Linked DNA regions of Homo sapiens: regions 1, 2 and 3 are each linked to region 4. The links are contacts of gene promoters, found by promoter capture Hi-C in blood cells and fetal thymus (Javierre and others, 2016). All regions are on one chromosome and are shown on one strand. Each heading gives the region's core, a stretch centred on a gene start or on the middle of the fragment in contact. The rest is flanking DNA. Distances are from core to core; before and after follow the strand shown.

Region 1 (6,112 bases), core at 3,128-5,627, 220 kb after region 4:
CCCCGTCCGAGAAGTGAGGAGCCCCTCCGCCCGGCAGCCGCCCCGTCTGGGAGGTGTACCCAACAGCTCATTGAGAATGGGCCATGATGACGATGGCGGTTTTGTCCAATAGAAAAGGGGGAAATGTGGGGAAAAGATAGAGAAATCAGATTGTTGCTGTGTCTGTGCAGAAAGAAGTAGACATGGGAGACTCCATTTTGTTCTGTACTAAGCAAAATTCTTCTGCCTTGGGATGCTGTTGATCTATGACCTTACCCCAAACCCTGTGCTCTCTGAAACATGTGCTGTGTCCACTCAGGGTTAAATGGATTAAGGGCGGTGCAAGATGTGCTTTGTTAAACAGACGCTTGAAGGCAGCATGCTCATTAAGAGTCATCACCACTCCCTAATCTCAAGTACCCAGGGACACAAACACTGCGGAAGGCCGCAGGGTCCTCTGCCTAGGAAAACCAGGGACCTTTGTTCACTTGTTTATCTGCTGACCTTCCCTCCACTATTGTCCTATGACCCTGCCAAATCCCCATCTGCGAGAAACACCCAAGAATGATCAATAAAAAAAAAAAAAGAAGCATCATTTATATACATTTATTAGGTAAACTTACCTTATTGTAATGGATTTGTTTAAAGCTCTTACTCTACCATGCAGAAATCTGAAGGCCTCATGTCTGCCTCTATCATTTTCTCGCCTACATCCATTAAGATGCCTGATTAAATAGCTTAAAATGGTTTGATCTAAGTTTTGCTCAAGAGCACATCTTTAAAAAACTTCACATTTTACGAAAGACAAACAAAGATTTGCAGCATCCATGACTACAAACAAAAGTAAAATATGAGTCGCAGGTTTGGCATGCACCGTGCAGTCTGAATATGATATCCGTGTCACCAGCACCCCCTGGTGGAGGATAAGTCAGCAAAATGCCTGGCTCTGCTGTGAATCAACAGACTTATTTTACAGGCCCACTCTTTTCATCATCCTGGCAAAAATTTTCAATTTTTAAAATTAAAGCTATAATTTACATAAAACTGAATTGATTAAACATTCAAACGTAGGTTTAAAAACTAACATAATTCGAGATTTGAAGAACTGTTTCAGAATGTGAAGCATTTTTAAAACCAACTTGTGGATATTTGGAAGTATTGTATCTGCAAATTGGTGACTTTCTTGAAGATATGGGTACTGTTGTACATCTTTGTTATCCTTCTGTTATACCAGCTGTATAAATACAATTTTAATTGGAAGAAAGTTTTATTCATGTAGAAGCCCTATAAGAATACATGCAAAAGGCACAGAGGCTACAGAGCCTAAAAAGATGCTGTCAGGAGGGCAAGAGTGGAGAGTATCTGATGGTATGCTTTGCCTAGATGCAAGAACAGTTGGCCAAGTCAGGTACTCACTGTTCTATTTCACAGCCTGACCAAAGAGGCACTTCACCACCTGGACACCAGCTACAGCTGTCACATGGAGAGAAGGACAGAGACCATTGTGGACAAGAGGCCTATGGAGCTGCTGGTGGAGCTTATGTTTTGGGTGCCCAAGAAGCACAGTGCTCAGCCTTAGGTGCTGCCTTCTGTGGTGGTGGGAGACCAGGCCAGAAATCCTAGGGCCACTGCTCCAAGCAGAAGCCCTAGATCAGATACTTCTGTCCAAGTATCCCAGATCAGATACTTCTCTCCATATATTCTCTTACAGCAGCTGATGGAGCCTTTTGGTGGCATCTAAGCTGGTTGCAGTGTGGTTACTCTAACAATGCATACACTTTCTGCAAATTAGAGCTTCTTTGTTATTTTGTAATATTTGAAATAAAAAGTGAAATTGATTCCAAACTGATTCAACATTAAATACGCCAATGAAAGGAAAAAAACTCTTATATTTTTAAAATCTGATTTCAATAGCAAAGTTTTAAATGGTGGTACAAATTATTGAAAACTCTTACCACTTTTCATATATAATTTCTCATTGATGATGATTGCTGTGTTTTGATTGTTTGTCCCCTCCCAAATGCATCTTGAAATTTAATTGCCATTGTAGCAGTATTAAGAGACGAGACCTGTAAGAGGTGATTGTGATTAGGCCATGAGGGTTCTCCCCTCGTGAATTAATGCCTTTATAGCAAGAGTGGGTTTCTTACAAAAGGATGAGTTCAGCTCCAGTCTCTCTCTCTCTCTCTCTCTCTCTCTGTCTCTTTGCATTTCCCCTATGTGATAATACAGCAAGAAGGCTCTTGCAAGATGCTGACACCTCAATCTTGGATTTCCCAACCTCTAGAATCATTAGCCAAGAAAATTCTGTATAAATTACCCAGTCTTAGGTATTCTCTTATAGCAGGTCAATGTGAACTAAAACAGTGACTGTAAAAGAAACTAGAGATACACTCATTAAAAATTCTGGAAAAAGCATTGCAAATAGCTATTTCTAGCACAAAGCCTGATGTAAAGAATTTATGTTCCAAAAGAAAGTACAAATTTTCATTAATAACTATGAATATATATATTTTTGGAATATTATCTTATAAAATTATAGAAATTTTAAAATTACGCTGGGTGTGATGGCTCACATCTGTAATCCCAGGTGTGAGAGATTACACCTTGGGAGATTACACCTTGGGAGGCCAAGGTGGGAGGATTGTTTGAGCCCAGGAGTTCGAGACCAGCCTGTAAAACAGTGAGACCCTGTCTCTACAAAAATAAAAAAAGATTAGCTGGGTGTGATAGCAGGCGCCTGTACTCTCAGCTACTCAGGAGGCAGAGGTGAGAGGATTGCTCGAGTCCAGGAGGCCAAGGCTTCCGTGAGCCAAGATCGTGCCACTGTACTCCAGCCAGGGTGACAGAGTGAGACCTGGTCTCAAATATTTTTAAATAAATAAGTATAATAAAAAGAAAAAAAACAAAATGGTTGTTACCAGAGGCTGGGGGTGAGGGGAATGAGATGTTGGTCAAAGGGTGCAAAGTTTTAATTAGAAAGGAGGTATATGTTTTTGGAATCTATTGCACTGACTGGAGAGTATAGTTAATAATAATGCAATATATATTTCAAAATTGCTAAGAGAGTAGATTTTAAGTGTTTACACTACAGAAAATCAGTATGTGAGTTGATAGGTGTGTTAATGATCTTAATTTAATAATTTCATGATGTATACATTTATCAAAACACCACATTGTATCCCATAAATACATATAATAATTACTAATAAAAAATAAGAAAACAAAAGTTTATACATCTCTTTTAAGATGGATATTTTTGGCTGGGTATGGTGACTCACTCCTGTAGTCCCACCACTTTGGGAGGCCAAGGCAGGTGGATTACTTGATCCCAGGAGTTCAAGACCAGCCTGGGCAATATGATGAAATCCTGTCTCTATAAAAAATACAAAAATTATCCAATGGTGGTGGCATGTGCCTGTAGTCCCAGCTACTTGGGAGGCTGAGGTGGGAAGATCTATTGAACCTGGGAGGTTGAGGCTGCAGTAAGCTGTGATTGCAGCAAAGCAGGACACAGTCTCAAAAAAAAAAAAAAAGAGAATTCTGTATCCTGACTTAGGTGGTGGTTACATAAATATGTACATGGGATAGAATTGCATAGATTTGCACACACATACATACGAGCATGTTAAACTAGTGAATAAGGTCTGTAGTTTCGTTAACATTATTGAACCTATGTCAATTTCCTGGTTTTGCTATTGTCCTATAGTCGTGGAAGACATCGCCATGTGAGGAAACTGGGTGAAGAGTTCAAGGGAATCTACGTATGACTTTTGCCACTTCTTGTGATTCTAGTAATTTTAAAATAAAAAGGTAAAAAAATAGATGCCTTCTCACAAGCACAAATTCCTACCTACAGAGAAATTCTAAAGTCACACTGTCTTGAAATAACGGCCCATGAATAGTGATTTTTCTTACGGATTTGATTTTAACATGAAAGACAAAGACATGTTGAGTTAGAGCAACCCAAGGTAAATACATTTTTATGAAATAAAGGATAATTCTATGTTACACAAAATTTTTATTAAAAAATCTGAAATCAATTAAAAGTATCCCTTTTCTTTATGCCTATGAAGTATGCAAAAGTAAAAATGGATTATTTGAAAGATTATTTAAAAGGACTCACAATATTAAAAATGAGCATATAAACTTCACTAAATTATACTTACATTCCTGTTAAAGCTAATATACTACCTAGGATTATAATTAGCAAAAATTCTGACAATCATTACATTTACATCTTTATACATGAGAGCAGATGCTCTTTCTCCTATGCCCTGTGGATTGTATAATCCCTGATGAGAAATTTACCTCTACTACAACAAATTAGGCTGTAAACAAGGGCATACAATTTCTTCCCTGCAGAGTTTGTCATGGTAGGGGAGGTCCTGAGAGAGACTTACTGGGGGATATGTAATCAGGTCCAAAAGAATTGTAAGCCTTGAGCAAATGCCATGTGCTCTATGACATGGTAGCTCTGGTTTGAAGTGCAGTTTTCCAACAAACCCTCTTGGCAAATTTATAAATAATAGTTTGATCTACACCACAAAATGATTCCCAGAACATTCAGATTCTGAGATCTCTGCTCAATGCTTTTGCCAGTCAAGGGAGAAGAAGATTCTGTGACTACATCTGATCAACATAGATACCTTCACAGCCATTTCTTCCTCCAGGGCAGTGGAGGTGAAACACATATCAATGGTCAGCACTGAGTTCTCTGAGTGGAAGGAAGGTGAGTTAATCAAGTTTCTATTTCTCTCTCCTGGATGTTGCTGAAAAATGGGGAAAAGTATTCTATTCAATAGCAAGAAACTTAGTGGTATGGAGCTCTGACTCTTGGGCTTGCATTTTTCTCACACTGTTCTCTCTGTTGGCTTCATTCTTAGCCTGGTATCAAGATAGCAATAGCAGTTCCAAGTGACACATCCAGAACAGAGGAATGCCAGGAAAGGATATTTGTCTCTTTATTAAAAAATATATTGACATGTGCTATACATATAGAAGAGTTTAAGGGTCATAAAAATACCAGTTTGGTAAAATTTTACAAACTTAACAACTAATATAACTGTACCCAAATTAATTATGTTTCTCTTATGCCTTCCTACAAAGACCTGTGAAAGCACATTCAGCTTCCTTTCTTCATCCTGTCTAGCTAGGATGGAATAGAGGAGAATGTGTAGAAACACTTATGTGATTTGTATGTGGTGAATCATAAGGCTTTGACTACTAAGGGTCTTCTGTTATCACCTGGTGACTTCATGGATTCTTATAGTAAGGTATCTAGAAACCCTATAGGAGACCCCTGTCTAGGAAACAGAATATCGGTATGGTCTCTGCCCTAAAGGAATCCTCCCTTACCTGGTGGTCATCACAAGGAAACTGAAGTGTCTAGTAGAATAATGGAAACATAAGTAGAAACTAGGAAGTGGCCAGGCTCGGTGGTTCACACCTGTAATTCCAGCACTTTGGGAGGCTGAGGCAGGTGGATCATCTGAGGTCAGGAGTTTGAGACCAGCCAGACCAATATCATGAAACACTGTCTCTACTAAAAATACAAAAATTAGCTGGGATCGTGGCATGTGCCTGTAATCCTAGCTACCTGGGAGGCTGGACAGGAGAATCTCTTGAACCCGGGAGGCAGAGGTTGCAGTGAGCCGAGATCCCACCATTGCACTCCAGCCAGGGCAACAAGCGTGAAACTCCATCTTAAAAAAAAAAAAAAGAAACTAGGAAGTGAAGGGCCAGATGGAAGCGAGGGAGATGAGACACATCCACATAACCCAAGCTCAACAGCAGGTAGGCCTGTGCCTCAGCTACTCCACCTCTCTGTCTTCTAGTAAGGACAGGAGCAATTGTTTGTCACATTCAGTCTGTACAGACAAAAGACACTGACTGAAATGTTGAGGAGTGGGAGTGGCAGTACATTCAGAACATTCAGATCCCATGAAACAAAGAAGTCACCCAAATTCCTACAGCCTGAGTCCCCTCCTCATTAATGAGATTTTGTAAAAAGAAATCTGTGTTCCTAATAGAATTTTCTTTTGTCTTCCCAGATTTTTGAAGACAAAAAATGCTGGCTAGAAACAACTCCTTAGTGACTGAATTTATTCTTGCTGGATTAACAGATCATCCA
Region 2 (6,503 bases), core at 2,812-5,311, 150 kb before region 4:
TGTAATTTCTTCATCTCTCGTGGAGCACAATATGTGATTTTTAAGGCCTTGTTTGTGAATAAGTGTGCTCTTTAATCATTTGGGTAAAAGGAATCTCAAATTTATCATGTGTACTTGGCAGTGGATTAAGATAACTATGTAATCCATTTCCAGTGTGGCCAGCTTGACAGCTACATTTGAAAATCTGTTTCACTGCTTGTTTTTTCTTGTAACATTGTTTCCTGCTATTATAACTAAGCTGTCCTCCTTGCAGATTGACTTTATTTTTCATCTGACATCTTAGACTGATCAAGCCAATGTTTTCTAAACAATACATTTATATAGCTGTTATGCCTTATTTCTGTTCCTCCACGTTATAGTGCTCCATTCCATGTATGGTCAGTTAGCTAGAACAGTGTTTTTGTCCTGGTGAATATTTTATGATTGTATGAAATGGGGCAAACTTTGAGAAAATTATTAAGCCAATACTGGAATTGGTTGGCATATGCCTTTATGATTTATTTAGTTTGTTTTCTACTTTGCCCTACCAGGGAAGAATTTAATTCTTCCCATTTCCTGAAAGTCAAAGGATTGGAGGACACTAAAGCAAAATAAACCTTAATTTCACCCCAAAAGTAGCTTAGGTAATGTCAGGAAGGGCTTTGATGAAACCACTGTCCCTGCTTATAGATCTTATTTTCCAAGCCTTTCAATATTTTATTTGCCCTTTTCTGAACTCTACAATTTCCCTCTCTTGTAGCTGGTTCGATGCCCAGAACTGAATGCTGTGCTCCAGCTGTGGCCTCACCGGTGCTGAATAGAGAGGAAGAGCCACCTTCATAGCTTACATGTGATTCCTCTGCTTATACAACCCAATACTGGATTTACTTACTTTGGCAAGATAGCTGCATTGTGCACTGTATTTAATGTTACGTGTACTGTAACCCTGGGTCTTTCTCTACATTGCTGCCGTTAAACCCCCAATCCTGCCAATCTAAAACTCCTGCCTTTGTTTACCTTCCCCCTCCCCCATAGACTCCCCATACATTCATCCACAATGAATGTCATCTTTTTATTCTCTCATTTCCTTTTACTCTAATCTTAAACTTTGGCAAAACTTTCACTCTGTCCTATAAATTGTCAGTTGTCAGCCATCTTATTTTTCTCCCTGCTTTGGTAATGGGACATCTTTGAAGTCTTTTCTCTGGCTCTTTTCCCTTCATAGTCATGAAGCACTTGGCATGGTGGATTTAGTAAGCATTCTCTTGCCATTGCTTCCAAATCAAATACCATGAACTCCTCTGGGTTGACCACCGATCAAGTTGTTACCTATGCTTTAGTTCTTCAGTCCAGGTTTTCCTGACTCCTCCTGACCTCTATCCCTACAGCTTCTTTCAGGATACAGTATTCTCTCACAACTCTTCCTCCAGGGGGAGACAACAGCATCATGTCAATTTACCGGGGAGATTTCCAACAGTCAGGAAAATTACAATCTCTAATTGTGAATAGAATAGTTTTTAATAATTTTAAGCACATTTCTGCCCCTGCCCCAGACCTTAATTTTTAGAAACTATTAAGCTTAAGTTACTACAAATTTCTAGGATGAGTAAAATAAAGGAAGAAGAAAGGGAAGCAAGATTTTTGTGTTGAATAGGACATGGTTCTCCAAGAAAGCCAAATTGAGGTTCTTGTTGGGTTTGAGAGCTGTCTGAAATGGGAATTGAGGCTTCGTTTTTCTGAGCATTATTGTAATCTCAGCTCTAGAGTAGGTTTTTAAGTGGGTTTATTTAGGACTGGGACACGCACAGTCTTAATTCCATGCTTTGGCTAATTTAGAGTGTGGAAAGTGTAACCTCTTTTGCTTTATTGTGGGTGATAATTGGAAGGTCTCCATAGTTCCTTTTTATCCATCTCTAAACTCCCTCAAGTTTAACTCAATCCCAGTGCTTCTTACAGTACCAGTCAAGCCGAAGTTTCAGTTCTTACTCTTTTTTTTTCTTAGTTGATGTGATTTAAATAGCCTCTCCTTGGATCTGTGGTCTTTACTGAACCCAGAAGTTACCTCTTAAGTGCATTTATATCTTGAGAGAGTTAAAATCAGTTGGGAAATCTTTTTTAACATGATTTCAATACATCAAATTCCTATCATGGATTTAAAAGTTACCAAACATCTTTCCTTCAGGCCCCTGATAGATATTTTACATACTAGCATAGTGCAGTATTCAAGTGTATTACAAAAGTACACTACAAAGTAAGAAGTAGCAAGATCTGTTAGTGTCTTTTGATAAATTGTAAAATGTGTCACCTGACTTTTCTTCCATATCTGTAACCATTAGATACTGCTAGTTTCCTTATTCACAATTACATAAGCCAAGTGAAGTATTAAGCTCAATTTGGTGGTTCCAAAGAGAGTAAGAGTCTTTGCTGTGGTTTCCTACCATGTCTATCGCCAGAGATTGGTGGCTTTGCTTATGCTTGTGTCACTTCCTGATATGTGTGGCACCTTTCTTGAAAGGAATGTTAGTTTTATTCCCTGACTTCCGAAATAACCGTCAGCAACAGAGCCAACTGGGCCCTTGTGTGTGCTGAATGCTTTTCTCCAGGGAGTCAGTAAGTAGTGAGCAGTGGCATGGTTTCCTTCTCCATTTATGGCCTTGGAAGGGTGAAAGGGACATGGTTGGGACTCTCCATTTACGGTCCTTGGAGGAGTTGAAAAGAGTGGTTGGGGTGTTCTTGGAGGCAGAAACTAGACATTGTGAGATAAAAATAAATTGGCAAGGGATGTTTGGAATTCAAATTCCAATCCCTGCAAGGAGGGCAGAGGGCGCTGGGAAAGGGGGAGTGTGTAGAAAGTCAAATGAGCTCTGCCGCAGGCATTTGTCTCCTTCCATTGGAAGGTTTGCCCATGACACACATTTGCCAAGTTCATATTTCTGGTTTGTTCTAGAAAGTTTTGTCTTATGTAATTGTGACTATCTTTTACAAAGAGGAAGAAGAAACACTTTTAAAAAGAGTGTATCGTTGGAAACCTCAGTTCTCTAAGGCATCATTTGAGGCTCCAGAAGAGATCTCAAGAAAGGGAGAATGAGGCAGATGCTTGTGCAGGGGGTAGGCCGGCTGGCTTTAGGGTGGGAGACTCTTAATTGTTGCTCTGTTTTTGTGTGAGGAAGATCATCACACATGTCGTGCTTTTATTATTCCTTTTACCCATCTAGATTTCTGGCTTCAAGGGACAAATTTTTAAAGTATCTGATAGAGTGTCTTGTAGATTGTCAACTGTGATTTAAAGATACTGAACTTCCTGGCTGGGTGTGGTGGCTCACGCCTGTAATCCCAGCACTTTGGGAGGCCAAGGCGGGCGGATCACCTGAGGTCGGGAGTTCAAGACCAGCCTGACCAACGTGGAGAAACCCCGTCTCTACTAAAATTACAAAATTAGCCGGGCAGGGTGGCGCATGCCTGTAATCCCAGCTACTTGGGAGGCTGAGGCAGGAGAATCACTTGAACCCAGAAGGCGAGGTTGCAGTGAGCCGAGATGGCGCCATTGCACTCCAGGCTGGGCAACAAGAGCGAAGTGCTGTCTCAAAAAATATATAAATAAAGAGACTGAACTTCCTTGGAGGCTTTGTAGATATTATTAAGAGTTGTTTTAGTTTGGTGAAAATAGTTAACATATTGGCTTATGGAGAGCAATCTCACGTTTAGGATAAATTTAGTCTGGCAGTGCCTACAAATTAAGTCTGAGGTGAACTACTTTTGAACAGTTGAGTTAGAAAGTATTTGGTAGCCACCAGGGAAAAGAGATCTTATTTCAAGAAAATAATTAGTGAAACTCAGTAAAGTAGAAGGGAGATTAGAAGGAACAAAGGGAGGCAGAGATGGGATAGAGACTGGTTGCAACTTAACTAAATTTGGAAGCTGGGATTAAGCCCTTGATTTATCTTTTGAAATGCCATATAAGATAGCATAAGATGTACCATTAAATTCAGGAAACTGGGCTAATAATCAGAAATATGTGTTAGAAATAAAGACCATGGTAAAAATGGAAGGGTTGTACAAGAGAATAAAATTATTCAGGTTTTGTCTGTGGATTTGCATAATGATATTTATTTGCTGTGTGCCACATGGCAGAAAAGGAAGTGAAATAACACCCCTCTGTCCCGTCCTTTTCCCCAGAAAGAAATCACTGGCTTCATTTGTTGGTTTGTTTAGCTGGCAGCTTGAGTTGGTAGAACAGACGAGTAGATTGTCTAGCTTTAGACGTAGGTATTAGTGTACTGTTTCTTGATCATTGATGTTTGAGACCTGGAATTTGTAGCATTATTGATTTGACCTCTGTTTTAAATTTTAGCGGCTTCCACAAAGACTGAGTTAGTAAGGAATACAACTATGTAAGTAATATGTTTTACTAGCTAATTTGTCTAGGCAATTATTTTTACCCTGTATTCATTCCTTCTTAATCAAGAGTAAGGCAGGTATTCTTTGCTTTGGGAAATTCTTCTTTCTGTCCTCCCTTCCCTCACTTTTTCCAAATTCTGGGCACAACAGCAGCTCTCTCTCTTCTGTGGCAGGTGTGCATCCTATTGGCTGGCTGGTATTTCTTGTTTTTTTTCCCCCTTATTCTTTTTAAATGGGGGTGGGGGTATAAAAATATGTGTATGGGGTACATGCAATAATGTTGTAATGTTTCTTGTTGTTTAATGGATAATTAATTGCAAAATAATTGTTTTAATTATAACATGTTTGAGTAAATGCTAAATTAGTATTTTTTTCTAATATAATAATGAATTTGAAATCTAGCATTCCTGTAACAATGTGTCTATGTTTGTCTGTCTGTGTCTGTCTAATAGTAATTAATATCTGTGGTCCGTACCTGGAAGAGGAAGTACAGCTTTAAAGGAATAACAAAAGACTTTGTGTCTTAGACCCTTCGCAGGTGTTACAGTCGGGTGAAAGAACATGGTGTTGGGAAAAGAAAGAGCAGTTACACATTTGAACAGTTGGAACAGGTGTTTGGTCAGGGAGGATGGGATGCTCAGCCCTGCCAGCCTGTACTTATTAACAGTAGTGGCTTGTACCAGGAGCTGGAGTCAGATGGCAGCACTATGGAGGACTATTCACAGGAGGACTGGGGAAACCACAGTCAGGATCTCCATGGCTATCCAACAGATCAGGAATTGGGTAAGAAAGCCAACATATATGATACTTATGTTTGTGTATATTTATATACCTTTATGTATGTGCACCAGTACTTATTACCTGTAAATATCTTTGGTACTGTTCCCTATAGTGGTCAGCATAAGGCATAAAGGGCATCTCTGCCTTGTATGTCTTTCATGAATTTGCATGTCCCAGTCTATTTGGGGCAATGTGGGCATCCTTGGTTTAGCCTTAAACTGCCAACTGGTGCTTGGTGTTGTTCATTTGGCAAGTTGTTTACCAGCAGGATTCCCAAAGACACAGAAGAATTTCTAATTCTGAGCTATACAAGTACACTCAGTGACAGGTAACATCCTATGCAATTCTAAATATCCTGTACCTTCTAGTTCTAAGATGACTGCTAAGATATCTTGGCCCAACTGCTGTAGATGTTGTTCTTAGGAATTCCTTCTTTTATCCCAAATACATTTTTCTTTTCTGTTTATGATTTGGAAAAGGTCTTCTCTCAGACTTGAGCCTGAACACAAAATGAGGGGAAGCCTCCATTTATCTTGAATAGAGCTGTTATTTGAACTGTGTGATCATGTTCCTTCACACTTCTTAAGGGATCGCATCCCAACAGTAGCTGGAATTATTTATACAGTCATAGGCATTAAAAATGGAAAATAAAATTCCTGGTCATCAAATCTAAACTTGTAGGGCCTAACTAAGAGTATATATGTAGTTGTGGGATTGTTCTGTTTCTTTGCGCATTACATGCTCCAATTTTTATTTTCATAATTTGATTTCATAATTTGGAGGTACTGATCAATCAGCCATTGTACATTAACAGGAGGTTATGTAATGAGTGCTCACTTAGAAGGGTATATTCTTGCTCCCAGCCCTTGGTACTCAGGCAGCCCCCAAGGAAGTATAAGTAGGATTGGCAGTATAAACATGCTCCCTGAGCTTTAGATAAAAGTCCATGGGCTCTGTTTTTTACCAAATTCTTGATGATAGAAAAATGTTAATTCCAAAGAAAAAGGACTAAATGCTAATATGTTTCTTAGCAATGTTGTTTTAAAAATACTCTTCAAATATTGGAAGACAGTCAAAGAAGAAAGAGGTTATAAAACTATAAGACTAACAGCGTATAAGAAATGGACTTAACGATTAGAAGAATAAAAGGGGTAGATGGTAAGCGATCACTACCGATTAATTTCAAAGGAGTAATAAGGTCTAAATTACTTTGGCATTCCATAACACTGGTTTTGCTGTAGAGAGTTAAGTCACTCAAACCTTTGGGAAAAAAGCAATATGCAGAATATGTTGATCCTGACATTGGGGGAATAATTGCTTTGTAAAACCTACATAGAAAATCTAAA
Region 3 (6,447 bases), core at 3,818-6,317, 220 kb before region 4:
ACTTAGGCACAGAGTGGCTAAACAACTTGCCCAAAGTTACTTGGCTGTGACATAGAACATCCAGGATTTAAACTCAGGCTGACTGTACACTTGTATGCTTACTCAATACTGTATACCACATCTCTGTGAAAGACCTGCATCCGTATAGCAGGTATAGCAGAAGGAAGACTCCCCCTACTCCCCCTTCCACACACATTCTACTTTTATGTATGTTTCTTGTAACAGAATGACTCCTACTATTATATTACTGAGTGTAGTCCACTAAGACCTCTGGATCTTTTTCCGTCGTTCTGTTTTTATTTCCTAAATCCCTTAGTCCCTCGCACCTATCCACATTAAACCTGGTACTCTTTGTGTTTGCTCTTTTGCTCTCCTTTTTTTTAAAAAAAAAAAATTTCAGCTTTAATTTCAAACTCTTTTTGTGTGGCAGAAGTTTATTTTTTTAACTGAGGTAAAATACACATAATTTACCATCTTTACCATTTTTAAGTGTACAGTTCAGTGGTCATAAATATATTTCTATTTATATCCTTTTTTTCCCCTTTCATTCACTTCCTGCCCACTTCCCAGCCTCTGGTAACCACCAATCCACTCTGTATCTTCATGAGATCAACTTCTTTAGCTCCCACAAATCAGTGAGAACATGTGAGATTTGTCTTTCCGTACTTGGCTTATTTCACTTAATATAACGGCCTCCAGTTCCCTACATGTTGTTGCAAATGACAGGGTTTTTTTCTTTTTTATGGCTGAATAATATCCCATTGTGTATATGTACCACATTTCCTTTATTCATTCTTCCACTGTTGGCGACTTAGGTTGATTCCGTATTTTGGCTATTGTGAATAGTGCTGCAATAAACATGGGAGTGCAGGCATCTGGTTGTATATTGCTTTCCTTTCTTTTGGAATATATACACACACACACACATGCACACACACGGTAGTGTTATTTTTCGTTTTGTGAGGAACTTCCATACTGTTCTTCATAGTAGCTGTACTAATTTGCATTCCAACCAACAGTGTATGAGTGTTCCGCTTTCTCCACATCCTCACCGGTATGTTATTGCTTGTCTTTTTGATACAAGCCATTTTAACTGGGGTAAGATGATAATGAATTGTGGTTTGGGTTTGCGTTTCTCTGATGATTAGTGACGTTGAAAATTTTTTCATATACCCATTGACCATTTGTATGTCTTCTTTTGAGAAGTGTCTGTTCAGATCTTTTGCCCATTTGAAAATCAGATTATTTGGTTTTCTTTTTCTATTGAGATCTTGAACTATATATTCTGGTTAGTAATCTCTTGTCAGCTGGCTAGTTGGCAAATATTTTCTCCAATTCTGTGGGCTGTCTTTTCACTTTGTTGATTGTTTCCTTTGCTGTGCAAAAGCTTTTTAGTTTGATGTAATCCCAGTTGTCTATTTTTGCTTCGGTTGACCACGCTTTTGATGTCTTACACAAAAAGTCTTTGCTGAGACCAATATCCTAGAGCATTTCCCCAAAGTTTTCTTCCGGTAGTTTCATAGTTTTAGGTCTTTAATCAATTTTGATTTGATTTTTGTGTAGGGTGAGAGATAGGGACCTAGTTTCATTCTTCTGCATATAGATATCCAGTCTCCCCAGCATAATTTATTGAAAGAACTGTCCTTTCTCCATTGTATATTCTTTGCACCTTTGTAGAAAATAAGTTGGTTATAAACACATGGATTTATATCAGAGTTTTCTATGCTGTTTCATTGGGCTATGTGTCTGTTTTTTTATGCCAGTACCATGCTGTTTTAGTTACCATAGTTCTGTATTAAACTTTGAAGTCCAATATGGTAGTATGATGCCTCCAGCTTCGTTGTTGTTTTTAGAATCTGGGTCCCTGTCATCCAGGCTGGAGAGCGGTGGCACAATTATGGATCACTGCAGCCTCAAACTCCTGGGCTCAAGGGATCCTCCCGCCTCAGCCTCTCAAATGGCTAGGATTACAGGCTTGTGCCGCCATGCCTGGGTTTTTTTTTTCTTTTTTGTAGAGAGGGGGGTCTCACTGTGCTGCTCAGGCTGGGCTCAAACTCAAATTCCTGGCCTCAAGTGACCCTCCAGCTTTGACCTTCCAAAGCACTGAGATTACAGACATGAGCCACTGCTCCCGGCCCTGTTCTTTTGCTCAGGATTGCTTTGGCTTTTCAAAATCTTTTGTGGTTCTATAAAAGTTTTAGAATTTTTTTTTTATTTCTATGAAGCATGTCATTAGTATTTTGATAGGGATTACTGTATTTGCCATTTCTTTAATTCCTGACACTTTTTCAGTCTCCAGAAAGTCAGAAATCCACTCTGTTCTTTATTTCTCTCTGTCTTCATCTCTCTCCTCTCTCTCCCTTTCTCTCCCGCATCCCTCCTCCCCACCACCCCTCGCCCCCATTTTTTCTCTCTCTTTCTCTGTAGGTGAGGATCAAATTCACAAAGTAAGGGACCAATTGAGATCTTCAAATCCCCTACATCCTACAGAGGATGTCCCACTTTTCAATTAAAGAGGAATATTCCCATGTCTCTAATGATTTCCATTCAGAGGGAAATGCTTTTGTGTTAAATGCATATATGAAAGGTTTTCCACCTGACATCACTGAGTCTTTATCGCTTTGTTTCTATGTGCTTGTGTGCGTTCCTAGATTTGTTTGTATTCATTGAATATTGGACCTTTCTCCACTATCTGCAGGGATCTCTTGACCCTAAAGTCCCTCATTCCACTGCCTCACATTCATCTTTAGCCTCCACTGCCTCACACTGAGCCCCTGTAAGGGGCTCCTTTTCACTGACTTCTGGATCTCAATTCCTGGCAGTAAAGATGACTCCAAGATCTCCCTGGATTCCCACAGAGAAGCAGAGTCTGCCCTGGGAAAGTCCAGCCTCACTCTAACCTCACTCCCCATCTACACAATGAGATGCATCTAGGTTTTATGGGCATAGAGAGAAGTCACCATTCTGAAAAGTCATGGGAAATACTCCCTCTCTCCTTCCTTCTGTTTGTGTGTCCCTTTCCATTTCTTACGGCTTCTCTTCCATGTCTCTCTCCCCTACCCCCATCCTGCTGCCTGTTTATTCTTTAAGCCTTACCTCCTAAGTCCTGATTGCATAGCTCATAAATATTCAGCATCTCCTAGGAGCAACCTCTGAATGGTATTTCACCACCCAGCGTTGTTCCCTCCTGTAATCAGAAATGGGGCTAGACTTTTCTCAGAGTCACTTGCCTTCAACCCCTGAGCCCTCCACTTATCAGGATGAGGGCTTTATTTTCCTCTTCATGGTCTTAATCATAAAAAGATTTCTCACTGTGACTTTGGAGCCCGGTATAGATTCTAACCTCCATCATCTCAGGGTCCTGTATCTCTAAATGTGAAAACTTCCAAATATTCCATGATAAGACAGTATACCTATTCCAAGGCAATTACACTGGCATTAGAAAAGGAAAAGGAAATAGAAATGGGTCTAGAGTTATAATTCAGGTGGAAAAAGTATAAGCACTGTACCTGGCACATAGAAGATATTCAGTAAATATTTCAATTATGCTGGATGATTTCCAATGTGCCTATGAAAAAGATGGAATGAAAAATAAACCAAAGTATAACCAACAGTGGAATTAGGTGTGAGAGAATGTATACAACTTTTCCATCTTTCCTCCATTTTTGGATATTTTGTCATCCTAATTAATAATGGAAAAATATACAATTATCATTTAGAAAGGGTGAAGTAGAGGAAGGTGGGCAGGCAGATTACGGCCAGCTCTCCTTAGCGCCCCAAACTCCTGCCTCTTTGGGCATCGTAGGACAGCCCAAGGCCGCAGAGGCTAGAGTCTCTTTCCCCCCATTGGTTTGGCACCAGAGCCAGCAAGGCCAGTTGTTTGTATTAGGGTGAAAGAGGGAACAAAGAGGTGGGAATAGGAAGTAAGTGCAGAGAATCAGAGAAGTGTGGTTTCTTTGCAAACATCCTCCCCAAACCTCTCTTCTATGATATTTTAAACAGATGTCGTCCAGGTTTGTCTTGAATCCTTCCAGAGGCAGGGAGCTCAGAACCTGATGGGCAGTGCCTAGGACAAGGTAAGGCAGCTCTCACAAACAGCAGGTCTTCTCTACAGACACCTGCCTCATCTGTCGGGCTGGTCCTGCCTCTAAATAATTGGTTCAGAAATGAATAGGAAGAGAAGCCGGGCACAGTGGCTCATGCCTGTAGTCTCAGCATTTTGGGAGGCTAAGACAGGTGGATCACTTGAGGTCAGGAGTTTGAGACCAGCCTGGGCAACATGGTGAAACCCCATCTCTACCAAAAAACAAACAAACAAAAATTAGCTGGGCATAGTGGTGTGCACCTGTATTCCCAGCTACTTGGGAGGCTGAGGGAGGAGAATCACTTAAACCCAGGAGGCAGAGGTTGCAGTCAGCAGAGATTGCACCACTGCACTCCAGACTAGGTGACAGAGCAAAACTCTGTCTCAAAAAAATAAAATAAAATAAAAAAGCGGATGAGAAGAGAGAGCAGAGATGGAAGTCCAAGATATAAGGAAAAGAATATCTCTTGGCATAAGAGTCACATATTGATTGAGACACTAAAGGCTGAAGGTCGAGCTCATTGTTTAACTTGCCTTGAGCCATTTCTGCTCAAAATCTACAAGAGGACTGAGGTTGGCAGAATTTGGGGGTTGGCTGTGTAGCAATGACTTGGGCCAGTATTCAGAAAAGCAGCTTCATAATCCCCATTTAAATCCTATTTCAGCACAATTTACGTTGGAGATGGGAGTGGGGACTATTCCATGGGGCTATTTCAGAAAGACCAGGGATGCTGTCAATGGAAGCTGTGAAAGTGTCTGTGTGTGGAGGGTGGAGACAGGGCCCATGTGTTTTGGGCTCTATTAACTATCTCCCTCCCATCCATCACAGCCTCCCCCCGGGCCTCCACAGCCCTGGCAGCTGGGTCACCCCGGGGAGGCTGGGCTCGGGGTCCCTAAAGGGAACTAGGCTTCAGGCAGAGCAGTGGAGACACATGTGTGCCGGGCTGGGTTGGGGCCGGCACCTCATTGAGAAGGGGGCTCTCCAAGCTGGGCTTCATTAGGGCAGTGGCACTAATAGGGAGGGGGTCCTGGGGGCTGGGCTGACAGCCAGTTACTTGCTCGTCTGCATTATGGATTAACCCATCTGGGCCTGGGAGATTGGCTCTGAAAGGGGCACAAAAGGCGGGGGGCGTGACCACAATCACACACTGAATTATCCCGTCTGAGCGCAATTGTCCACCAACAAACGGGGCCTCAGGATGGTGACCCCCTTGGGTTCTCTTCATCCCCCATCCCTTGCCCCATAGGAAAAGCCAGAGATAAACTGCTGCCTGGTTAAAAAACAGGGTTTGGGGCAAGGAGGACAAGGATGCCATTCCAGAGAGACGAGGAATTTAGGGGAGAGGAGTGGGATTTGAGGTTCAGCCAGAGAAGCCAGGAGCCAAGCAAAAGTTCTCCCAACATACTTTTTGACTTCAGCTGTCCACCTCAGAAACAAAGAACGATGTAAGAAACACACCTGTCGGGAATACCAGGCAGAATCCAGGAGCAGAGGGGCGCAGTGTAGGGGAAAGGCAAGGGAAGGACCAGAGTCAGGTGTCTCGCATCTCACCTGTCACCCCCTCTGAGGCTAATTGATTCCAGACATGAATAAGGGGCTCTCACTTGGGGTCTTGAAGGACCCCTGCCCTGCTCTGGCATCTCTGATGCTCTCCCAGTGGGAGTGCCCCAACCCCTTCCCCACGTCCTCCTCCAGGAATAAGACCCTGTGCGATGCAGGGTGATGGAGGGAAGAACAGGAGGGGGCGGCAGGCAGGGGGGCCCTCTCCTCTGCCTAATCCTCTCATTACCATCTCATAATCAGAATCACGCTTTCAATGTAAATGGGGATGTTAAATATTGGTTTCTCTAGACACAAGCTCCTTTGGAGAAAATTATTTATGCTCCCCCTTTTGCCAGTACTGGTGGCCCCCACAGTGGAGGGGGGGATGGTGCAAAGCATTACTGAGGGCTGGGGGCTTTAGAGTCAGACTGGTGGGAAGGTGGAAGTGTCTGACTTCCGCGGGGGGAGACTGATTTGTTTTAGGTTGGCCTGGGCAGCCTCAGTTTCCCTGATTCAGCAGAAGAAACTCATCCAGAGGAAATTGGCTCATTTCAAACTCATCAAGACTTGGTAGGAGCTGATTGGCTTCCGGTCTCAAATCATTCTCGACTGGAGAGCGATATGGAGTTGTAGATCCCAAAATCAGATTACTAGGGGAGGGGAAGGGCATTCACGGGAGAGCTCAGGCTCTTTGCCCTGTTGCCCATTGCTAGAAACTCCTGGCATGTCCCAGGGTAGTGACCTGCACTCTCCAACCAAGGACAAAAAGTGGCAATGTCCTTTCACATCCAGAACTTCCTGTTTGCCGTTTCACAGCAGT
Region 4 (6,780 bases), core at 3,085-5,584:
ACTTAGGGCCAGCCACTTTTCTGCATCTTGGGATTACCCAAATGGTGATTATACATATCTACCTTGTAAGGTATCAGAACAGGTAATACATATCCTAGCACAGAGAAGGTTCTAAAGACAAACAGTGGTTATTATTAGAGGGGGTACCTGAGGCTGCACACCACCATCCTTGATCTGACAGGTATATAGACACTTCTGGTCTGGGCACTTCATGCTGGCATATATTCGAGTACTGCAATAGCCCACGGGGTAGATGGCACTCTCATCATGAAAGCCAGGTCGGTCGGTGATGATCTATAAAAAACATTCCCCCAACCTGGGATTGAGGTCACTGAAGAATTTAGAAGTCCAGTTTCCTGTGGTAGCCTTTAGAACCACTTTGGGGCTGCAAAGAGTGACAAATCACACAAAGACAGAGAGTAGGCTGTGTAGCAGACAACACTGACCTGGTTTTGCAGGGACTGGAGATACGCTGGGGTTGGTATGGATCAGCAAGAGGCTGCTGCTAATGGGAACAGGGAGGGAAGGCTCAACCCCATTCCCGTATTTCCCTGATTCTCCTCTCTATATATCGCTGGTCTCACTCACCTCCCCCAGGCTATATACTGTTAGACCCCCTAGTCCGATGGGGAACACAGGCCGTCCTGAGGGATCCAGGGCAATGGGCTGAACCAGCTTGCGAGCACCTCCCGCCATTTTCTTTTTCTTGCATGTTTTCTTCAGAACTGAAACGCAAATCTGGGGTCACCCACTTTAGGCCCCTTCCAATGTTGAAGGGAAGGGATAAATTTGCACGTGAATGGTGAGGGCAATAAGCCAATCCTGGTTTTATATACTTACTGAATGGGCATATGGGGCTTTCGCCCAAAGCCCTGAGTAGCTTTCTAACCTGCCCAGATTAGTGCTTAGGAGCCAAAGGCCTTATACTTTTTAAGGCCTCTTATTTCATCTGTAAGATCAGAAATTTACCAAGCCAGCAGTGTGCTCCAAAGGCCACCTAGCCCATTTCCCTGCCTCTAGGAAAGACTAAATGGAATGCAACCCAGAGAGTTGGGGGAAGGGGGAAGTCTCAGTCTGCTCCCCTTGCATTTAACGAAGTCTAGCTCGAATTTCTCCACCCAAAGTGGCTCTAATACATTTGACATTTGTTTTCTCAAGGGCTCCTAGGGCTCCTTAAGAACCAGATGAGACTCTAAGTACATCTGCAGCTGTGTGTGTCTGTCAGTTAGTACCAGGTCTAACTGTCATTAGTAGGTGAGTCACTGGGGCAACTGATATCATCTCCCCAAAGTACCTTCCAGTTTGTTGTTCTCTTTGCCTTTTTCTTTTTTCTCCTTCTTAGTTTTCTTCCCAAATGGTTCCTCAGCCCCAGTGCTGGGCCCTGAAATAGGCCCAGCTCCCTGTATAGTTCCCACAGAGCTGGCCACACCATAAGTCAGGGGCAAACTGGAACTGTGGGAAGGAGCTGCAGCCTGTACTTCCCCTTCAGTTAGAGCCTGAAGCTGGAGGAGCTTCTTTAGCAAGTACCTGAGATCAGGAAGGAAAGGAGCAGAGAAATGAACTTCCGTATTGTCTCAATTCAGTATTTTACTCAAGTACTGGGAAAAGCCAGAATTATATACAAAGATTACTATACTCATAAAAGAAAGGTTCTTATTAGGCCCTATGAATCATAAAGCCCTGGAGGATAATCAATACTTCAAGAGGCCAAGGATAAGAACTGTAGCTTATCTCTTGCATCTGGACGGTTCCTCTACCTTGATGTTGGACGGTGTTAGGCTTCTGAAAGGCACATTATTTACACATGTATATATACCCATTGTGCTTTGCACAGAATAGTACGTACAGAATAAATATTTGTAGAACGAGAGGCAGTTGCTTTTATCACTTGGCTTTTATAATTGGGCCATAAGATTAAATAATCTTAGTAAGATTATTTATTAGATGTGGCAAGATGGCTTTTTCAGAAAGATGAGTAGAGGAGCTGTCTCATCGCCATGGCCCAACATAACTTGGGTGTGCAGGCACCAATGCCTCAGGCTGTAAGTTTCTCTGTGCTTGATCAAGTGGCCAAGGGGCTGTGCGATACGCATCAATCCCACTGGGAAAAAAAGTCTCCAGAGCAGTAACACCATTATCAATCACCAAATCAATCACCAAAAAGGTGATGCTGAACACAAAATGAAGCCAGCTCACCTTCTTTCTTCTTTTGCTTTAAGAAATTTTTCCTCAAGACGAGCAATTTCATCACAAATAGCAGCATTTTCCTTTAAGTAAAAATGTGAATATAATAACATAAAATGAATAAAAAAATCACATTATTATGCTGGGAAGAGGATCCATATTTCAAACCAAAAAAGCTTGTATTACTGAGAAGAAGGAGCTATTCGACCGTGTGACAAACTATAAATAAATCCATAGATAAAGGTAGTCAGGTTCTACTATGGACAGGGTATAGCTATGTAATTTATTATCCAATCCGGGACATCTTTGAGTGAAAAGGGGGTACTATTAATGCTTATGCCAGAACAATACGGTGAACCAGGACTGTCCTGGGCAAGCCAAGATTAATGGTCACCCTAATTAGTATAGCCTTTGGCAAAGAAAAAGGCATACTGCTTAAATCCTTATATGCTTAAATTAAATACTATAAATATGAAAACTGTCTATTCCCAAGTGCCTCAACTCTTGAAAAACTTACAAAGCCAGTCTAACCCAAATAGAGAAAAACTGGACAGAACAAAATCAAATTTAGTGTGTAAAATTCTTAAACTTCACAATCTACTTATACGAATTCAAGTATTATCTTTTTTCTTTTTTTTTTTTTTTTTTTTGTAAATGATGACTCAATCTATCTCCCAAGCACCAATCCTGAAGGGAATGCTGAATCTGAATGCCCCCATAGGTGGAACTTCAAACTCTCAATGTTCAAAACAACATCGCTTTTTCTTCACAAAATCTTCATTATGTATTTGATGGAACCAATATCCTTGAAATAACATAAATTCCAAGCTTTAGGTACCTTTGACGTATAGGGGATAAAAGAAAGGGAACAGTCAATCAGATGCTAAGTTCTCTTAGTTTTACTTTTCTTGTTTCTCTCCAGTGCAAATAGCAAGCAATACACATAGCAAGTGCTGAATAAGTGCTTTTGGAATGTGTATTCTAATTTCTGAACCTTTCCTTATGCTTCCAAAAATGCTGAGAGACGTTCAAGCTTTTGGTAGAGAGAAGAGATGAACTGTTGACTTGGATGTGGGGGGACATTTGAGGACTCCACCCCTATTTCCAAGCACTGAGGCAAGCCAAACTATTCTAATATAAAGTTATGGCTGGCAAGCTATATTAAGTTTATTCACTCAATAAATCCAGTGCTTCTACAATAAAAGAAAGGAAGAAACACTTGGAACACTCAAAGGTTAGAGGGGGGAAATTACTGACAGTTTCATGTACCTCTTTGGGCAAAGGGTCAGTTATGGGGATTTGAGGTGCTCAGAAAATAGTCTGTGTACTGGAAGTCATAAAACGGAATCAGGTTTATCTAAGTTGGAGTCAGGGCTCTGACACAGTACCCTTGGGCAAATCATCTCTCTGGGCTTCAGTGTTCTCATTTTACAAATAATGCCTAATTCTCAGGGCTGTATCTCGAGAATCAAACACATTTCCTAGAGTCCTGCAGTAACAACGATGACTAAAATTTATTGGTATGTCTTTTACGCACCAAGCACTTTTCTTTACTCATTTAATATTCATTATTCTGCAAGACAGTTACTAGCTCATTTACAGATGAGGACACAGAGAAATTACGTAATTTGTCCAAGGACACAAGGCTAACAAGTAGTAACGTATACGGAAAAGCCAACACTGTATTAATACTGTCACACTGGGAAGGGGGAACAGCTTGGGGAAAGATTTTGTGAGGGAGTCTCCAGGAGGGGACCGGCTGAACGTGGGTCAGACTCACAAACACCGTGGCCTTGGCCGCTTTGCGCAGCCGCAGGTACTTCAGCCGGTACTTCTCATTCTGGCTCTTCTTCGGGAGCTTTTTCATCCTGGCCTTGCTGGACTGCAGCGGAGCCCGCGGCGAGGAAGCGAGGCCGTCCAGCAGGCTCATGGTCCAGCCCCGCTACGGGGGCCCCAGGACGCTGCCGGCATCGGATCCTAAGTCGGGGAGCGGGCGGGAGCGCTGGCTTTGTCTGTTCCGGGCTAGCGGAATCGGGCCTCTAGGAATCTAGCTCTCCGGGACGTTCCCAGGGCTGACCGCAGGGCCAGAGACACCCGCAACCGAACGGGCTCCCGGCGCCTCCCAGCACTTCCGTGTCTGTCTTGGAAGTAAGCCCTTCCCGGAAGTTACGTCCCGGTGTCGGCAGTGTGTAACTTCCGGGGCAGGGAGAGTAGGGTGGTCTGGGCGGTGCGATCGTGGGCACCGGGAGGAAAGAGACAGCTGGGGGCTAGTGCTGGATGAGGAGAGGAGGGAGGGCCGGCGGCCGTGTGCTTAGCTGAAGGGTACTATAGTTGAACCAACGAACTAACAAGAAGCTTACCAATGCGAGCTCTCATTCACGCTCCCCCGCTGGGCCACTGCGTTTTAATACGTTTTTCATGCTTCGTGCAGACAGGCTTTCCCAGACTGTAGGACAAAGTGAGCCCAAGTGCTGGGACTCTGCTTCTTTCCCTGCTTCGTTCCTTTCTGCAGCTCACAGAAATGTGTTTGCAGGGCCTCCTAATGCTATCATCTTCCCAGGAGCTGGGAACACAGTAGTGAACAGGAAGAAAGGCCTTGGCTCTTTCTAGTAGGGAAGATGAGAGATTTAACACGCAGTTTTAATACTAGCACTAAGTAGGCACTCAGTAAATGTTTGTCTAGTGAAACCAGAAGTGTATTTCTGTACATAATATGTACATGTATATGGTTCTAACTTTACAACCAAGGTCTATTTAAAATTAGGGAAGATAGAAAAATCTTTAGGGTGCGGTATTGGTAAGTGACCCAGGCTGGATGGCAGAAGGCTTGCTTGCATCTTCTTCCAGCGATGCCAATAACTAGTTCAGTAACTCTCTAGTTTTTTCTCTCAAAAAAAAAATTTGCTGTTCTGCTGTATTTTGTCCTTGCGGGCTTTGGGGTCTGACTTTATTTGTATTATTTATTTTCATATACATGTATCACATCTAGGGGGAAGAAAAGTGCTATCCTTTGTCCTAGTTTGCAGGCTGTTTTGGCCAATGGACTTTAGTGGGATTTGCATGAAGATATTTTTTGTTTCTTCTTCATTGGACACATTTCCTTACACTTACAAAACATTTCATTCGAACTTTAGAAATTTAGAAAATATAGTACAAGAAAGGTTTAAAAATCCATAATGCTACCACTTGGAATGAACTACTTTTACCATGTTAGTATATGTGTCTAATATTTTATGCATTTTTGTATAGGTTAGACAATACTGAAAATAAAGTTTTCTTTTTGTTCATTTACCATTGTATCATTTCAGTTTCACAAATGTTAGTATAGCTTCCTTATAAGCATAATTTTAAGTGGCTGGTTAATATTCCAGTTATGGCTATATTATATTTTGCATAATTATTTCCATGTTCTTTGACTTTTTGGTCAATTCCATTAAAAGCATATCTTTGCGTCCAAAGCTTTTTCCATATAGGACTGTTCAGAGGCTGGATATGTGTGCTCCACAAAGGTCATGCCACTGAGCAACTCATTCAGTCCTTATTTGTTTAGAAGAATATTTACCTAGTGCCTATTATGATACCACCTTTAAGAACCTTAATTTAAGAAGGAAAGACAGACAAGTAAATTGGCAATGTTAATATGGTATAATAAGTTTGTTTCAGAGGTAGGTTTTATTTTATTTGGCAGCACTCAGGGAAGGAGGGAGGAGATAGGAAAGGTTTCTTAAAGGAGATACATCTGGGCAGACTCTGAAGGAGAGGTAGTGGTTGGTTGGCCCAGTGAAGAACAAAGGGGGGCATGCTGGATGGTGGAGACAGCATATGCAAAGGCTCAGTATGGGAACTGCAAGTAGTTGATCAGTGTGAAAGATGTGTGTAGAGAGAAGCAAGAAGAGAGACTGAAGCAGTAAGTAGGGTTTTTTGGGTCATGAAAAGTCTTGTGTACCAACTGAAGAGTTGGACTTTGACCCAGTGACAATAGGAAACCATCTATCAGCTCTTTGCTTGTGTTAGGTAAACTTACCTGAATCTGTCAGAAGCAACACAACTTTTCTACTTAACTATACGAAGAAGGGTCTAAATGGCCTATGCAAAAATTCTTTAAAGAAATGCATAATGTGTAGCTCTAAAAAGAAATATAAAATGGCAGACAGCATGATATTGTGTCTGAGTGTGGTCTTTGAAGTCAGACCAAAGTTCCATTAACTACAGGCATAGGAATGGGAGTTAGAAGCTAAAATAGGGTAATAAATCAGAAGAGAAAGAAGTTCAATAGCACTTTACTGTCTACCCATTTGTAAGTGCTTGCTATTCAGTGATTAGCTGTAAGGGAAGGCATAGTATCCTCTGGAGTATTAAAAGCATACCTGGCTCCGTTAACAGTTGTGAAGAAGTCCATAGCCCATAATCCCAGCCCCTGGTGAAATGAGTTCCTGGTTTAGATGGTGAAAAGTGTATCTGGGCACCTGAAGGCTCCACTCACGGCTGAGACATGGCCCCAGCCTTGTTCTACTATGTCCTTACATCCTAAGAGCAGATTACAAATTGAAGCCATCATCTCCCAGCACTTTGGAGGCTACAGAGGACTTGGACAAG

The links. Contacts are between HindIII fragments. The CHiCAGO score rates a contact against its expected background, and 5 or more counts as called.
Region 1: the fragment with the promoter of OR8B3 here is called in contact with the fragment with the promoter of TBRG1 in region 4 in 3 of 17 cell types (M0 macrophages, M1 macrophages and megakaryocytes); the score reaches 6.1 in M0 macrophages.
Region 2: a fragment that was not itself captured here is called in contact with the fragment with the promoter of TBRG1 in region 4 in 11 of 17 cell types (naive CD4 T cells, total CD8 T cells, naive CD8 T cells and 8 more); the score reaches 7.5 in naive CD4 T cells.
Region 3: a fragment that was not itself captured here is called in contact with the fragment with the promoter of TBRG1 in region 4 in 3 of 17 cell types (naive CD4 T cells, total CD8 T cells and activated CD4 T cells); the score reaches 5.7 in naive CD4 T cells.

What each region holds. Positions count from the first base shown.
Region 1 is chr11:124,397,289-124,403,400 of GRCh38, reverse strand. OR8B3 (olfactory receptor family 8 subfamily B member 3) reads left to right here and starts at 4,377. Exons shown (of 2, transcript NM_001005467.2): 1 at 4,377-4,711; 2 at 6,033-6,112. The coding sequence starts at 6,050. It also overlaps a transcript of OR8B2 not described here. The HindIII fragment of the contact is 12,656 bases long and covers 1-6,112 here.
Region 2 is chr11:124,773,376-124,779,878 of GRCh38, reverse strand. MSANTD2 (Myb/SANT DNA binding domain containing 2) reads left to right here. Exons shown (of 4, transcript NM_001308027.2): 2 at 4,905-5,160. Among named protein-coding and RNA genes, the nearest start is that of ESAM, 14 kb to the right of the region's middle. The HindIII fragment of the contact is 5,004 bases long and covers 1,560-6,503 here.
Region 3 is chr11:124,844,994-124,851,440 of GRCh38, reverse strand. No RefSeq gene overlaps it. Among named protein-coding and RNA genes, the nearest start is that of ROBO3, 17 kb to the left of the region's middle. The HindIII fragment of the contact is 7,355 bases long and covers 1,390-6,447 here.
Region 4 is chr11:124,620,418-124,627,197 of GRCh38, reverse strand. It overlaps TBRG1 (transforming growth factor beta regulator 1), which reads right to left and starts at 4,334. Exons shown (of 9, transcript NM_032811.3): 1 at 3,965-4,334; 2 at 2,197-2,267; 3 at 1,295-1,527; 4 at 589-725; 5 at 148-294. The coding sequence starts at 4,114. It overlaps LOC124902779 (a long non-coding RNA gene), which reads left to right and starts at 3,997. Exons shown (of 2, transcript XR_007062932.1): 1 at 3,997-6,780. RefSeq lists an enhancer at 4,188-4,257. The HindIII fragment of the contact is 1,322 bases long and covers 3,220-4,541 here.